Regions from separate parts of the Homo sapiens genome. Here regions 2, 3 and 4 are each linked to region 1. Evidence: promoter capture Hi-C in 16 types of primary human blood cells and fetal thymus (Javierre and others, 2016). All regions are on one chromosome and are shown on one strand. Each heading gives the region's core, a stretch centred on a gene start or on the middle of the fragment in contact. The rest is flanking DNA. Distances are from core to core; before and after follow the strand shown.

The links. The method cuts DNA at HindIII sites, captures the fragments that hold promoters and counts their contacts. A CHiCAGO score of 5 or more calls a contact.
Region 2: a fragment that was not itself captured here is called in contact with the fragment with the promoter of LRIT2 in region 1 in 1 of 17 cell types (neutrophils); the score reaches 5.7 in neutrophils.
Region 3: a contact is called between a fragment that was not itself captured here and the fragment with the promoter of LRIT2 in region 1, in 1 of 17 cell types (neutrophils). The highest score is 5.1, in neutrophils.
Region 4: a contact is called between a fragment that was not itself captured here and the fragment with the promoter of LRIT2 in region 1, in 1 of 17 cell types (neutrophils). The highest score is 5.7, in neutrophils.

The regions. Positions count from the first base shown.
Region 1 is chr10:84,223,890-84,227,799 of GRCh38, forward strand. It overlaps LRIT2 (leucine rich repeat, Ig-like and transmembrane domains 2), which reads right to left and starts at 1,655. Exons shown (of 3, transcript NM_001017924.5): 1 at 1,522-1,655; 2 at 444-1,225. The coding sequence starts at 1,631. The HindIII fragment of the contact is 7,130 bases long and covers 1-3,522 here.
Region 2 is chr10:84,475,695-84,480,058 of GRCh38, forward strand. It overlaps CCSER2 (coiled-coil serine rich protein 2), which reads left to right. Exons shown (of 10, transcript NM_001284240.2): 9 at 1,881-1,970. Among named protein-coding and RNA genes, the nearest start is that of CCSER2, 150 kb to the left of the region's middle. The HindIII fragment of the contact is 666 bases long and covers 2,138-2,803 here.
Region 3 is chr10:84,078,636-84,082,992 of GRCh38, forward strand. It overlaps the pseudogene HMGN2P8. Among named protein-coding and RNA genes, the nearest start is that of GHITM, 59 kb to the right of the region's middle. The HindIII fragment of the contact is 6,787 bases long and covers 1-4,357 here.
Region 4 is chr10:84,054,109-84,058,250 of GRCh38, forward strand. No RefSeq gene overlaps it. Among named protein-coding and RNA genes, the nearest start is that of GHITM, 83 kb to the right of the region's middle. The HindIII fragment of the contact is 1,800 bases long and covers 1,810-3,609 here.

The DNA.
Region 1 (3,910 bases), core at 405-2,904:
AGCACCCCAGGTGATTCTGCTCAGGCAAGTTAAGGAAATAACTAATAGATCATCTCTAAAATCAATCCTAGTAAAAAATTCTAGAATTCTAAAATACATAGTCCAGTGTTTTGCATCTAGAAGATTCCCAAAGACTATATCTGCTCATATAAAATTTTATAATATTTGCATAAGATATTAAATTAGCCCTGAAATATGTGTTTATATATGTGTATATGTTCTGTATGCAAAGAGATCTGTATGCAAACATTTAAAATAATGCCAATAGTGGAACACTACCTTGAAATCTTTTCTGTTCTAGTGAGCATAATTCAGGGCTATCCCAATCTTACTTGCACCCACCCTTCGTGACTGACCCAGCTTTGAATCTCTCTAATGAGGATGGGTTTGCTACAGACCTCTCCATTCCCTCCAGATACACTGAGAGGGTGCATGTGGCTTACCATCAAATTCTCTCCACATACTCAGGGGATAAGTCCATGCAATGGATGGTGAGGGGCTGGCCTGTGCCAAGCATCGCAGGGTCACATTCTGTCCTGCCCGGATGGTGATATTGGCACTGGGGGTTGAGATCTGTGGCTTCATGCAAGCACTAAGCTCAGTTTCATGAAAAAGCTGCCCTGCCTTGGACAGAGGGCCCTGACATATCAGGTAGGAATTCACCAGGATGACTGGGAGGGTAATGGACTTGACAAACTGGACAAGCCCCCTTAGGCGACAGTCACATACCCAGGGGTTGTCATGCAGGGCCACCACCAGGCTGGAGAGAATCTCAGCCCCACAGTCAGGCTGCCGGCATTTCTGGTAGGCTGGCCAGTTCAGGAAGACACTCTTGGATACAACTGTAAGCCTATTGGAGGATAGGTCAAGGTAGGTCAGGCTGACCAAGAATTGAAGAGCCAGCTCAGGGAGTGCATCAATCTTGTTGCGTTTGAGATCCAAGACCCTCAGGAGAGGGGTGGCACGGAACGCTGTCCATGGTACTGAGCAGAGCTTGTTCCCCTCCAGTCTCAGCTCCCTCAGTTCTGGCAGGTGTTCCAGGGCTCCTAGGTGGATCACACTGATATTGTTAAAATTGAGCCAGAGGTATTCCAAGGTGCTCATGTTGATGAAAGACCCTTGGGGCATCTCAAATAAGGGTGAATTTTCAATTCTCACTTGCTTGAACTCTTCAGAAAGGTTCCCAGGGATCTTTCCCAAGGAGACAGATGTGCACTGCAGAGTCCTGTACAAGAAACCAGAACAGCTTTAAGATAAACAACAGGGGACTGAAAAGTGGGGTCAGGCTGATCCTGGCATTAGACATGTGAATCAGAATAAAAATATTATTATTCATTGAAATAAAAGAGTTAGACTCATTTTGGTAAAAATGCACAGTTCAGCAAAGTTCAGTCCCAACTAGAATGAGTCTCATAGAGTTTTGCTGATTTCCTGCCAATTCTAAGCCTGCTTCCACTCCACATCATCCCCAAAGAAAACCCATTCCCCATAACCCTCTAACATCTGGCCAGCAGAGCGCACCTGCCAAAACTCTCCTCTGAGCAAGTGCATCCTGGCAGACAGAAAGGCTGAGCTGCGTGTGTATCCAGAAAGACCAGAACTAACAGGAAGTAATGAAAAACTGAAGCCATATTTCTCTGTAAGAAAATACGTTGTGAGTTTTGAATAAGTATCGCCCCAGCTTCCGAGTGGCAAATCCTATTATTGGTAATCCATGATGATGTAAGTCACACAGCAGCAGGAAAGCCCATGGGAGCTCTGAGGTCTGTTACAGCCCAGACCACAAGTTCAGTCAGAACACACGAAGGGGGATCAATGTCTCTTAACTAGGGTCAGGAAATTCAACATTTGTGTAATTCTTGAGTCTGAAAAGCAAACTCCAAGTCAGATGTCCAATTCCATACAGATTCTACATTTCTTAGAGTCTTAAACAGAAGTCTGAGAAACAAGCAGGCAGTGCTATTCTGAGCACCACTGTTCAGGGGATGTGGCCAGAATCCATCTAATGCTTCATCATTTGCAGTTGATTCCTGAAACCTAGAATTTCCAATCATTTTCTCAAAGTGAAAATAGGTGATGAGTAACAAAGTAATTCTGTGTTCATTCCTATCATTTGTTCTCTTCCCAACACCACGGGTGGTGTAGTCATGCTCCTACTGCATCAAGACAGCTGCTTCTGCAGCTTGGGTCACCAGTTTCAAATACAAGATGGTATTTTCTGATTAAACCAAAAGATTGTTTTCTTGGACTTCACAACCTTTCCTTAATACTGTGCATTTCACTTCATCAAAATGGGCAACCTACATTTTAAAAAGAGATGTATACAATTTTATATGCTTGCTCTTTCACTCTTCATTTATTCCACAAATATTTACTGGTCATTTGCTTTAAGCTATACTCTTGCCCAATGAAAGGAACAGGGTCAAGGGCAAACCTATTATAGACCCTGTCCCAAGGAGTCTTCTCTCTTGTTTGTGCTTCTGAATCTTGAGATCTTTGGAATGTAATTTAATCTCTGTGAGTCTTTTCTGTATCATGAGAATATTAACAAATACCTCATAGTGTTTCCAGGAATTTATTTCTCATTATTTTTTAATTTTTGTATTTTTTCAGAGACAGGGTCTCACTCTGTTGCCCAGGCTGGTCTCAAACTTCTCAGCCTCCCAAGTAACTGGGATTACAGGTGCAAGCCATTGCATCCAGCCATATTTTTAGAAAAGTTTGAGATTATGTTAAATACAACACCTAGCACACAGTTGGTGCCCATTAATCCTCCTCCCACTGACAAACTCTTTAAGATCCGAAAAGTCTACATCTCTATTAACTAGGGCACTTCCAGTTGAATATTGAAATTCCATGAGTTCCTTTAAGACTCATGATATACATTGTACCCTACAAAAGGCCTCAGGAAAGAAAATCCGCTTAGCTAACCAGTGAGGGGGGAAATGGGTCACCAGCTAAGCTGATTACACTCCAGGCTTTCCATCCAAGCCAGAAATATTTGCAGGAGTTTCCAAACAGTCTAACTCTAAAACCTGGGGGGACCACTGTGTTTGTCTAAAGGTAAAAATCCAAAACAAAGAGAGAGCTATCGGCACAAAGTTTGTCATACATATGGCTATGTGCTTCCTAGATCCCCCTTCAAGGTATAAGTGGATGCTCAGCTGCAAGGAGTGCTTGCATGAGGTCACGTCCTTCCCAAAGCAGCCACATCCCACATTCAGTGACTGAGGGTGGTGAGGGCCTGGCCAGTTTGCCCTGATGGGGGAAAACTCTGATGAGCAATTATCACTCCAGAGTCCCCTACCAGCTTTGCTAAGGCTTTGTCAGGCTTGTTTCATGGAAATATGTGATTTAATTCATGACTATTCCAAACCACTAGTGGATTCCTTTCTCTCCCCTTACCCCAAAGGATAAAGATCTTAAGAGTCCTCCATTCCCCCACAATTTCCTCTCTGTCCATCTCATGCCAGCCTTTTCAAATGAATCCAGCTCCATCCAACTTTCAAGAAGTTTGCGGGAAGCTTGTGAAGCACACCCACTGGCATGCTATCTCTAGAATCATCTAGGCCACTTCTCTACTGCCCCCCACTCCTTTCCTGACCCCCTCATTCTCTGGTTTCCTTATTTGGCATATGAACAGAGGGAGTGGCTCTCTTGGAAATTGAGGCAGGAGACCAGGATAATTGAAGTTAGCATGGGTCAAGTTATTTATGTTAAACAACCTGTGGTTCAGTGTAGTCCCTAAACTCAAGAGACCCTAACAACAATGGCAAGAGGGTCTGGAAATATTACAACCCATCTTCCCTCTTGCAGGATGCTTTTCAGAACTAGGGTCTTAAAATTCTCCATAGAGACAGAGTCATGGGGGAGGAATTACTCTGTGTTTGTGAAATGCTTAGATATAAAT
Region 2 (4,364 bases), core at 1,221-3,720, 250 kb after region 1:
TGGAATAAGTAAAGTGTTTTCGTTACGATAGTGTTTTTAAATTATCTTTTCTGTTCCTCATATACCCCTCATATATGTTAAAAGTTGATCCTATTACAGTGAATTCCAAGAGACTGTAAATACTTGATTATATATTGAATTTGGGGGGTTATTTTGGAGTTAGAGTCTCACTCTGTCACCCAGGATGGAGTGCGGTGGTGCAATCTCAGCACACTGTGGCCTCAACCTCCCAAGCTCAGGTGATCCTCTCACTCAACCTCCCGGGTAGCTGGGACTACAGGCACATGCTACCATGCCTGGCTGTTTTTGTTGTGTGTTTTTTGTAGATACAGGGTTTTGCCTTGTTGCCCAGGCTGGTCTGGAACCCCTGGGCCCAAGCAATCCGCCAGCCACAGCCTCCCAAAGTACTGGGAGTACAGGTGTGAGCTACTGCACCCAGCCTATATTGAATTTTGTTTCAGTGACTGTCTCATTTGTTAGGAATGGGAAATATGTCTCTATGATAGACATTTTTGTTTTTAGATTTTATTTTGTATAAGGAAATTGTAATGATCTGATTGCAGTTAAGAAAAATTTTGAATATGGGTAAATATTATTAAAGTAGAAATGTATCATTTTAACCTGATGGAATAATCAAGAATTTTTTAGTTTCCTATGAGAAAGTATATCTACCTCCAGTGAGGTTGTTTAACAAATAATGTGGTTATTTTCTAGCTTGTCACTAAGGGTGAATTCTCTCTCTTTTTTTTTTTTTTTTTTTTTTTTTTTGAAATGGTGTCTCCCTCTGTCACCCAGGCTGGAGTGCAGTGGTGCAATCTGTGCTCACTGCAAGCTCTGCTTCCGGGTTCATGCCATTCTCCTGCCTCAGCCTCCGGAGTAGCTGGGACTACAGGTGCCCGCCACCACATCCGGCAAATTTTTTGTATTTTTAGTAGAGATGAGGTTTCACTGTGTTAGCCAGGATGGTCTGCTTCTCCTGACCTCGTGATCCGCCCGCCTCGGCCTCCCAAAGTGCTGGGATTACAGGCGTGAGCCACCGTGCCTGGCCGGGAGAATTCTTTTTATCAGTATTTTCATGATCTTTTTTGAAAGTGATGATTATTTGGGAAAGTTACTTTGTGTTATATAAATGAGTGTGCTTTGAGTGGAATCGTGTGGAGAAATCATTTGTGAACAGAAATGGTCAGATGGATCTTGTCAAAGGGCTGACACTCTTCAAAATATTTCAGTCCAGTAAAGTCAATACATCATGAAAGAGGCTTCATCACACTGCACATGAGAACAGACATCCTGACAAGTGGACTGGTGGTATTCAATGTCCAGCAGAGTCCCATTAAAATATGGATTTAAGAAACTGAGCTTTAGTGACTGTAGTACCATGACAGTTTAGGGAAATACTGTAAATTCTGCAGTTGTATTCTTTATATACTGAATATCCCTATATATTCTACATCCATATACTTAACTCTTTATATTGATATACATAAAATCATATATTGTATGTTTTATGGACAATATAAGAGATTGCCAAGGGTAATTTAGATTATTCAAAATTCTAACCTTACAGGCTGACTCTCAAACCCACTCCCTGAATAAGATGAGAGACCACTGAATAGACCTTATTGTTGGCTGTGATAACATTTTTTCTTCAAAAAAGTAGCCAGAACTATTTTGCCATGTGTGACTTTTTTGTTGATTTGGTTACATACCCCCTAAAAGAGCCCTGATTACCTCCTGTCATGGCTGTTAATTTTTTTTATAGGTAATTTAGTTTTGCTTGTCTCTTAGGTGTTTTATGTGTTTTCCTAAAGTTTCTCTTGTGTGTCTTGGTGTGTATATGCAGAATTAAACCAATGTAAAAATTTTGTGTTTTTGTTTAGGCAACTCAGCATATCTGCCACCAAAAATGTAAAGAGGAAAAATGCACTTATGCTGATAAATATACCCAAACACCCTGGAGACGAATTCCTGTAAGTAACATTTGCTCTTAGCCTCCTCTCCAGTCATTTGCTATTTTGATGTTTTATTTCACTCTTTTTACAGCAATCTCTAATGATTTTGAATCTGTCATGGCTGTTAATTTTTTTGTAGGTAATTTATTTTTGCTTGTCTCTTAGGTGTTTATGTGTTTTCCTAAAGCTTCTCTTGTGTGTCTTATGTAAGTGAATGTGCATTTTAATAGCTTTTTCATTCTACATACTATAGTTCATTTTATTTGCGTGTCTACTCTCCTCTTATTGCATGATTTATGAGAGTAGTTCCACATGCCTTAAAGGAAATAGCAGTCCTGTATGCAGTCATCCCACTTTAGCAGCATATGACACTTTGAAAATATATGATTTAGCATATTCCTTTTTTGTTAAAACTTTTCAAATATGTTTATTATAATTACTCAAATGTTGAGGGTGTTAGGAAATATAAATGCACGAAGATACAGACAATAAAAGTTATGTTTTAGGCAGAACTAGGGAATGGTTTATTTTAAATAGGAAGTAACTATGTATTCCATGCTTATTTGTTTTTCAAAAATGTTATATCTCAAAACATGTTTAGTGCTAAAAATACTCTATCATTTAATCTGAGTTCTCAGAACTTAGTGCAGGATGTGTGTGAGCCAGAGAATTATCATATGGACATTAGTCATTCTGCTGTTGTTTGGGGCCAGGTAGTAGACATTTCTTGTTAAGAGATTGCCTAATAAGTCAGCCTTGACTCTTTTGCCTTATATTTAGGAGTGGAATCCTAGTAACACAAAGGAACAGAGAAATATAATGGCTAATATAATCAGCAATTCAGTTTATAAAGCTTAGCCATAAGCCTTTAAAGTTTATAAAAGAGTTTTGTTTCTTTTCATCTAACAAGTATTTTTTTTGTGCTCTGTATAAGATACAATGGTAGGAATTAATTTATTCAACAAAAGTTTGATGATCCCCTTTCATCCCAGATATTTGGCTTTCAAACTAGAAGTGGGGAATTAGGGAAGGAAATACAGACAAATAAGGATTCCTCTGTTTATAAGTACTTCTTAAGAAATTGGGAATGCATTGATGTAGTTAAAGTGCTGTGTAAGTCTATAAGGTTCAAAGGATGTGGGAAAGTCTAGTTGAAAGAATCAAGGAGCTTGGTGAAGAAAATGAAGGTTGTGTTTGAATCATAGAAAGCAAAAGATACCAACAGAAAAAGATGATGTGATATTATTTAATGTCAAAGGCGGTGGAAGCTCATCTGTTTGCAGACAGTTGTTTAATAGAAGACCATGCCCCTTGCTTCTAGATGGAAGTTTGGGCTTTCCAGGTGTCTCCATTTACCCCATAGGGATGTTATGCCTTATAATTGTACTACTAAGAAGACTGGTGATTCCATTAAGCATGATAAGTTCCATTTTGCCATCCTCATGGAAGTCTTTATACCACCTCTGGCTCCTTCAGCCTCACTGTTCTGGAAACTGGATGTTAGTCTTCCTCCTCATCAGACAAAAGTAACTATAAAAAAAGTAACTATAAAAGTTACTATAGGAATCATCTGGCCAAATACCTTTGTTTTGTAGATAAGGTAGCAAAAGCTGGGGAGATTAACTGGCATAGCAAAGTTCCCATAATTAATAAGTGGCTGAGCTAGTACTATAACTTAGGACTCTTGACTGCTAGTTCTAGGTTCTTTTCCCCAAAAGCACATTGAAGAGCCTTTGAAGGAGAGTGGTTTGCTGCCAACAGCAGCAGAGCAAAAATTTGAATGTATTGAGATTTGTCCAAGGGGATTTTGTGTCACTTAATGGCTGCAAATAAGATCTCTGAAGTAGAGAATCAACAGGAAATAAGAGGAAGAAATATAGTAGTAGAAAAGGGGAAAGGAGGAAAAGCAGATATTCACTTGCTTATTCAGCAGATATTTATGTGCCTACTTCATGCCAGGCACTGTATTAATTTGGATGTGTAAATATAAAGAAGAATATAAAAATACATGTGTAAATATAAAGTTCCATCCCTCAAGATGCTTGTAGAAACCTCCAGTGTGCTTAAATGATAGTAAGCTCACTCTTTTTCTGCATGTGAAGAAGCTAAGACTAAGAAGTGACTTATGCAAGTGTTTACACAACTTGTATACAGCAGTCTTATTTTAGTTGCTTTTCTTTTGAATGGTTGCAGGAGGGTGAGGGGGCTAGAAGGAATAGAGAAGAGAAAAGGATCATAGCTCTGGGAAGGGAGGACAGAGGCTTAATCTTAGTGAGAGATCACAATAAGGACTTAACTTCCCTGAGAGGAAAAAAAACAGGTGCCCAGGTTTGCACTGCATGGTAGAAGACTTAGCAGTATACTGTGATAATCCATAGAAACATACTTGTATTTTAAAAGTTATTTAATTTA
Region 3 (4,357 bases), core at 109-2,608, 150 kb before region 1:
ACTGTCTTTGAAAGTGAATAGGACTTTGTCCAGCCCATCATAGCCTATGGGAGCTCATGTGGTGAGATTAGCAGAAATGACTCATTTTTCATTGGGTCATGCCCCTGAAGTGCCCTTTAAGTGTTTTTTGGAGTCCCCAGGTATATCTCAGGTGTATTTATGAACATGTCAGCTTCATCTGAGTGCTGCTATTGTTTCTCTATTCCCTGCCAGATGTTGCCAGGATGTGTCCTTCTCCTGCTACAACTGAAACCTGGAACCCCCAAGATATCAACACTGCACAGCAGTCTCCCTTCCTTCATCTTATGCTCTGTTGCAGAAGTGTCAAAGCCATATGATTGATGCCCTCATGTCTTAGAGAAACAGCCTTGCCAGGTTTTATCTACAGCACACCCCTTCTCCAAGGGACACCCAATTATTGTATGAAATCCAAGGAGTAAAGAATTGGACCCAGTCAAGGCAAAGTGGCTCATGCCTGTGTCCCAACACTTTGGGAGGCCAAGGCAGGAGGATTGCTTGAGGCCAAGGGTTCAAGATTAGCTTAGGCAACATAGTGAGACCCTGTTTCTATAGAAAAATTGGCCACGTGTGGTGGTGCACACCCGTAGTCCCAACTACTCAGGAGGCTGAGGCAGGAGGCTTAGTTGAGCCCAGGAACTTGAGGCTGCAGTGAGCTATGATCACACCACTGCACTCCAGCCTAGGTGACAGAGTGAGACTCTGCTCTGAAATAATAATAATGAAATTTTTAGAAATAAAATAATTTTTAGAAAGACTCAGACACAATGGAGTGACAAACTCTTCAAAGCCCTCCCAATCACATCCTCTTGGCTATGGCTGGTTGAAGACTTCTTTGTTGTCATCTTTTATAAGGAAACTTCCTTTGGCTTTCTTTTTCAGGAGGCATCTTAGACCCTTCAGCTTTGCCCCAGTGGTCCTAAACTCCAGTCCAGAACCCCTTTTATGACAATAAATGTGGTTGTTTTATTTTCTTTACTCAATTTTCAATGCTTGTTCTTCTTAATGAGCATTTTCACTACCTAATTGCTTAATTAGATTACAATAAACTTACAGGATCATGTCAAAAATGAAGATTCTGCTTAAGTAGATCTGGGATGGGCCCACGATTCTGCCTTCTTTACAAGCCCGCAGGAGATACAGATGCTTCTCGTCTTGAACCGACCCTTGGGAAGCAAAGTTTAAGGGATTTTCAGACACATATGACATTGTTCCAGTTTGACTAGGAAAATGAATGCATCCCTACATAGGAAGCAGTAGCAGGGAGCATATGTCTGAGAATGAATACCTATTCTTGAAAATGCCCAGAATGTGGTGCATGAACACACTCACATAAGCGTGCTCTACAGCAGAGGTTTTCACACCTGAGTGTGCATCAGAATCACCTGGAAGGCTTAGTAAACACAGACTGTGGGCCCCACCCCCAGAGCTTCCACTTTAGTAGGCCTGGGTTGGAGCCCAAGAATCTACATTTCTAACAAGTTCCCAGGTGATGCAAATACTGCTGGCCCACGGACCATTTTGAGAGCTGCTGCTCTAGCAACACTGAAACCAGTAAAACCTCCACTATAAGAAATGACAGTTTCCAGTCATCAGCGTGAGAACAAATTACCCTCTGGATTCCTGCGCCGCTACACAAAAATGTTAAATCATCTAGGCTGGACTTATCTGCCTTCTGACATATGTCCCCCCACCTTTTGCAAACGTTCACAAAGACCTTTCAATATTAATCTCCATATGTTTACTTTGACTTTTAACCTGGGTCTTTGTATTTGAAGTGGAATACCTGTAGACAACATACAGTTGAGTCTTATTTTTTCAATTCACTCTCCAGTCTGAAAATCGGTCTTCCTATCAGTGTATTGAAACCACCTATATTTAAGGTGATTATTAATAGAGTTAGATTAGTATCTACCACGTTTGCCACTGCTATCTATTGGTTGCATTTGTTCTTTCTTTTTAAAAAAAAAAAAAAGGTGATGGTGTCTCACTGTGTTACCCAGGTTAGTCTCAAACTCCTGGGCTCTAATGATTCTCCCACCTCAGTCACCTAAGTAGCTGGGACTACAACTGCATGCCACCGCACCCATCTGTTCTTTCTTTTTTTTTTTTTTGCCCTCCTTTTCCTTCCTTCCTTCTCTGGTTTTGAGTATTTGATATGATTGAATTTTATCTTCCTAGTGCACCCATTATACTTCTTTTAAAATTTTCTACCTCTAAAGTATATCATATATATGTTCTTAACTAATCTAAATCTATTCTCAAATAACATCATAACTCTTCACATGTAGGGCAGGCACCTGATAACAAGCACCTGGTCCCAATTTCTCTCTAGCCCCTTGTGACATTGCATTCATTCATTTTAATTATCTACATGCTAATCATCACCCAATACACTGTTACTATTATTACTTCGAACAGTTCTCTTTTAGATCAATTAAGAATAAGAAAATAAATTATTTTATTTTACCTTTGTTTATTCCTTTACCAACACTCTTCCATTCTTTATACAGATCCAAGTTTCTCACCTGTATCATTTTCCTTCTGCCTGAAAACTTCTTGTAACATTTCTTGCAAGGAGTATCTGGTGGTAAAATTTCTTTTCAGTTTTTATTGGCCTGAGAAATTATTTCTTCTTCATTTTAGAAGAATAATTTTGCTGAATATAAAATTCTAGGGGCAGTGTGAGAAGAGGCGAGAACAACCACTGATCTGACCAAAGCCTGCTGCATCCTGCCCCAGCGCCTACGTCCCACCGCTGTCGCCGCCACCGTGCCCAAGAGAAAGGCTGAAGGTGATGCTAAAGGAGATAAAGCCAAGGTGAAGGACAAACCACAGAGAAGATCCATGAGGCTGTCTGCCAAACCTGCTCCTCCAAAGCCAGAGCCCAAGCCTAAAAATGCCCCTGCAAAGAAGGGAGAGAAGGTACCCAAAGGGAAAAAGGGAGCCAGGCGCGGTGGCTTACGCCTGTAACCCCGGCATGTTGGGAGGCCGAGGCCGGCGGATCACTTGAGGTCAGGAGATCGAGACCAGCCTGGCCAACATGATGAAACTCCACCTCTACTGAAAAATACACAAATTAGTTGGGCATGGTGGTGCATGCCTGTAATCCCAGCAACTCGGGAGGCTGAGGCAGGAGAATCACTTGAACCTGGAAGGCAGAGGTTGCAGTTAGCCGAGATGGCGCCACTGCACTCCAGCTTGGGCAACAGAGCGAGACTCTGTCTCAAAAAAAAAAGAAAAGAAAAGCTGATGCTGGCAAGGAGGGGAATAACCCAGCAGAAAATGGGGATGCCAAAAGAGACGAGGCACAGAAAGCTGAAGGTACTGGAGATGCCAAGTGAAATGTGTGCGTTTTTTATAACTGTGTACTTCTGGTGACTGTACAATTTGAAATACTATTTTTATCAAGTTTTATAAAAATGCAGAATTTTGTTTTACTTTTTTTTTAAGCTATGTTGTTAGCACACAGAACACTTCATTACTATTTTTGGGGGAAGAGGCATATGTCACTCATAGAATGTCTCCGAAGCTGGATTGATGTGAGGAAAACACCCTTCCCTTCTAGTTTTGAGAGACTTCCTCTTGGCTCCCAGGAGGAAGGATTCCCTGACTTTGACACCCATGGCCATCTTCGCACAAAAGCCTTGTGGGAGGGAAAAACAAATTCATTTTTATGTCCTCTTCTCCCTTTCCACCTTTCAGCATAGACTTAACTCCCTGAAGCCCAGACATCTGTTGGGACCTGACCCCCAACAATTGGTTACCAGTGTGTCAGGCAATCTGGACTTTCCAGTGATACCAGTGAGATGGCACCCCTCAAAAGAGCAATGGTTCCCTTTCTAGATTGTGGATCTTCAGATCACTTCTGATATTTTCATTTCACTTCCTGAAAGTCCGGGTTGGCTCATGAAAAGTTGTTAAACAACATGCTATATATGACAGGTCAACCCTTACTCTAAACTTTCCCCATTCAGAGCATCAGATGAAGACTTCATTGGGTTTAACAGTGGTTTTTTGATTTCAGTAGTCCATTGAATAAGGGAGTTTGAACATTGTTTTATACTGTTAACAACTGTCTGCCCATGTCCTGCCTGAAATACCATGATTGTTTGTGGAAAGTATCTTTAATAAAGCTGGATACAGTCTGGCTTGGAAAAAAATAAAAATAAAATTCCAGGTTAGTGAGATTTTTCAATCAACACTTCAAATATTTCATTCCATTCTCTTCTTACTTGCATGATTTCTAATTAGAAGTTTGATGGCCGGGTGCAGTGGCTCACGTCTCTAATCCCAGCACTTTGGGAGGCTGAGGTGGACAGATCATGAGATCAGGAGT
Region 4 (4,142 bases), core at 1,460-3,959, 170 kb before region 1:
AGAGAAAGCTACTTCTAGGATGCTGTGCTCCTATGAGGGGCATAGTAGGTTCTAACACCGAGGAAGTCCTTGTTTCTCTCTGGGCGCTAGGGGTGGGGAGAGAAGTCTGTGCTGTTGTTCTTAAGGTAGGAAAATACATAAATGGTCCGCCTTTGATCATATTATCTACACATCTCAAGGTACTGCTTTTAAACTGCTTCTTCTGACTTTTTAATCACAATTCTAACAACCATTATGTTAACATATTACATTAAAATTTTTTGTAAAGGTGTCACTTTTGGAAAAGCACTTAGGAGAGATAGTTTGTTCCCCCGCCCCCTCTTCTAGCACCCCAGACCTGCTGCTGGGCCTGTTAATAGCACCTGTTTCTGTTTGGGCAGGTGGCAGCAATTCTATTTTCCTTAGGATTTGCCAACATTCGGTGCTGGTTGTCAAGGCAGAGCCAGGAAGAGTAATTAATTTTATATCATGATTTTCCTGGATAAATGACCACCACCAGTGTGTATCTTGCTTCTCCTCCCATCAAGAGGTGAAGTGTATGTCCCTTTTTCATGACCAGGGCTGGATAGAGAATTTCTTGACCTGCAGAAAGCACCAGAAGTGGCTCTGGTGCCAGTCCCAGGCCTAGAGCCTGGCAGGTTCTTCTTTTGTGCGCTTGGAGCTCTGTCCCCATGTAAGATGGGCCACTCTGCTGGAGAGAGCATGTGGAGAGGAAGAGACAGCTGGCCAGCTGCCGAGTGTTCCTGTCATTACACAAAAGGTGCCAGGTAGGTGAGTATAGCCATTTTGCTCCTGCCCCAGCCAAGTTCCTGGTTTGTGCTGCCACCAGAGTGACCCCAGTCCACACCACATGGAGCAGCAGTGAGCTGTCCCTACAGAACCCTGCCAGGTTGTAGAATCCTGTGCATTAAGGCTCTAAGTTTTGGAGTGGTTTGTTACACATCAATAGATAACTGATACAAAATGCCCACCGGAACTAATGAAGGTCTCCAGCTGAAGGATCAATGTGCACACTGACCTCTGTTCTATGACATACATTATTTTGATACCTTGTATCTTAAGCCACTTATCAATGAGAATGTATATATATATATACATATCCTAAAAATCTCCCTACAAACCAGGTGTAATTATTTCTATTTTATAAGTGAAGAAACTGATGGTTAAAGACCAGCCGAAAGCCACAATCTAGAAATAGACTCAGCTACTGAATAATCCAGATCTATGCAATTCCACAGCTTATGGTTCCTTCTGGTGCATCCTACTGTCCTTAATTATGATGATTCTTTTGGGACTCTGCCACCTAATAACCTTATACATTTCTAATGCATGCATAAAGTGAGTCATACTGGACAAAAGAAATTGTCAAGTAAAAATCATGTTTCACACAATCGCTAGGAACCCTCTTTGTGTCCTCCAGCTTTGTTGCTACAGAGCATACAGTAGTGCCCTGATACTGCTTCCATCAAGAATGTCTGTAAACCTGATGTTTTATCAGTGATTATAATGTGTGTTTGGGTTTTTCTGGTTTGTTTCATTTTAGTGGAGGACACCCTGGGTTTTAAGTTGAATGAAGTTCACCAAAACCGATTACGTCTTTCCCCCATCATTTCTCAGTGAAAATAAAAGAGAGCGGTCTTGCAGCAAACTTTTCCAGGAAGAAAAAAAAATTAGAATGAGAGTGGGAATGAGAATTAAATCATAGAAGATGAACCACTTTGCTTTATTCGAGATGAAAACAAAATGCTCCTTCAATAAACACTTGAAGGAAAAAACCCTCCTTATTTTGACCTTCAGCATCCCAGGGGAAGCTTCTCATGGCAAAAGCCCCAGCCCTTGAGCCTGGAACCTTTGACTAGAAGTGTACCTGACCTGCACAGGGTTAGCAAATGTTCTAGGACAAAGAGCTGTTACTCTCTATTTCCAGAGCAGTTTGCCTGGTGTACACATGTGGATGTTTGAATGGCCTCTCAACTGTGTGACTGGTGAGGGGTTTCCACACCAAGCCTTCTACCAACAGCTTGCTGGTGGAGAGGGGAAGAGAAGGGCAGGGGCTTTGCTGTCAGTCAGACCAACCTTGGCTGGAATCCTGTGTCTACCACTCACTGTGTTATCTTGGGGAAGATACTTAGCATCTCTAAGTTTCTAATCTGTAAAATAAAAACAATCATACCCTTTAATTTTGGCTGTAAAATAGAGGAGCCCAATTCTTTGTCATTATCTCCCACATCAAAAATGGGCAGAAACACACACCTTAGTGTGTCCAATGTGGCTGACTGTATCCACTACAGAACAAAGGGAAGGGATGTGTGACAGAGACCAGTATCTATCTCATTTCTCTGTCTTCCTAGTAAAACAAAGAAAAAAAAAGCCCCAATTTTTTGATAAGCACATAGTTATCTAAAATAAAGACTAAATTTTCTAGCCACCATTGCTGCTGGCACATAGCAAAGCTCTGGACAACAAAATATAAGTGCAAGTATCATGTGAAATCTTTTGAAAGATTTTTAAAAGGAGAAGGCCTGCCCTTGTTAGTCTTTTCCTGATTTATGCTGGCTGGAATATGGATGTGAAGGCTGGAGCCTAAGCAGCCATCTTGAGCTAAGGGCAGCATCTGCAGGGTGGCAGAGCAACATGGTTAGGAGCAGCCTGAGTTCCTGATGCTCGCAAAGGGGCCAAACCTCTTGGTTCCTTCAGTAAAAGAGAAACAAACTTTTTAAAAAAGTATTTTTAAACCACAATTAGCTTCAGTTTTTCTGTTACCCGCAACTGAACTTAACCATTACCAGTACTGGAAGTTAACATGCTTTGTGGTCAATTTGCTCACAATATTTGTTTTCCAAGATGGTTTCTTCCTGATTTCTTAAAACTTGAATCTATTTGACATGCTGTCTGAAGCGTTGTTCATCTTCCTCAAGCAAGGTCACTGTTGGATTCTCATCCAGTGTGCTTGCTAAAGTCTGTGGTACTCACTGCTCCGAAAACACTCCAGGAATCCCAGTGGCTTCTGGACTGAAAAGTTAAAGGGAAAGACATAGCTTTGAGAAATTTGCCACATCAGACCACATTATGTTCATTAATAGTGAAAATACTGACATGTTTTAATGTTTACTATGTGCTGAGTACTTGGAGTATCTCATTTAATCATTCCAACAAACTTGTGACTTACTACTCTTGTCATTTCTGTACTGTGAATGGGAAAACCAAGGCTCTTAGCCACTTCAGCAACTGCCTTCTCAAAACAGCGTACTGCTGGAATCAGCCATCAGCCAGGCCCTGAGAATACTATGGCTCTATTTCCCTGAATTCTCTGGTATCTAAATCTAAATCTGAAGACAGTGCAGGAAAATTTCCCTCTTCTTTGTGCTGCTGTGTGAATGGGGACATGCCCTTTTGCAGCCCTGATTCCTGAGCCCCTGGTTCTGAACCTGAGACAAAATAGGCCCTCACTAAAAACAAGGTCTTTTTTTCTAGTAGTCTCTTATGAGTAACTATCTCCTATCTTACACATAATCTCCCAAGCTGGAGGCACGATTTGGATTAACGTCTGCTCACACTTGATTTATGATATTTCATTTCAAACCCCATTAATCTATCTAGCATTGATAAAGCTTCTGAACTTTGTGTTGCTTCCTGAGATTACTTTGAATCATGCATTCATACCCTTGATCATTTTTTAAAAACCTGACTGCAGGCTCAGGGATAAATTCCATGCTGTTCTGTAAATTTATCACCAACTTAATTTGGAATTTGTACTTGTCTCCACTTGAGTTACCTGGACCTTCAGTCAGATCCGAAAGTCCAAATCCCAACTCAGATTCTATTCTTTGAATCCCATAAAAAAATTTCTGATGCATAAAAATATCAGATAAAATAAATATTTGGCCTTTTCCATTACAGTCTAAGAAGATTTAATGCCAGATAAAATTGACAAATGTAGACTTTCATCCCAAAGTAAAATAAAATACCCTGAAATACAGACCCTCTCTCAAAACAGTACTGGTAAATAAAACACCTGGAGTGAGAGTGTTCCTCTTATACTGAAACCAGAGTACAAATTGAATATGTTGATGGTGCCTTCAAGATTCCTGAACATTCACAGCTGAGGAGTTAACATTTTGATGGATGAGCTGAACTCCCTT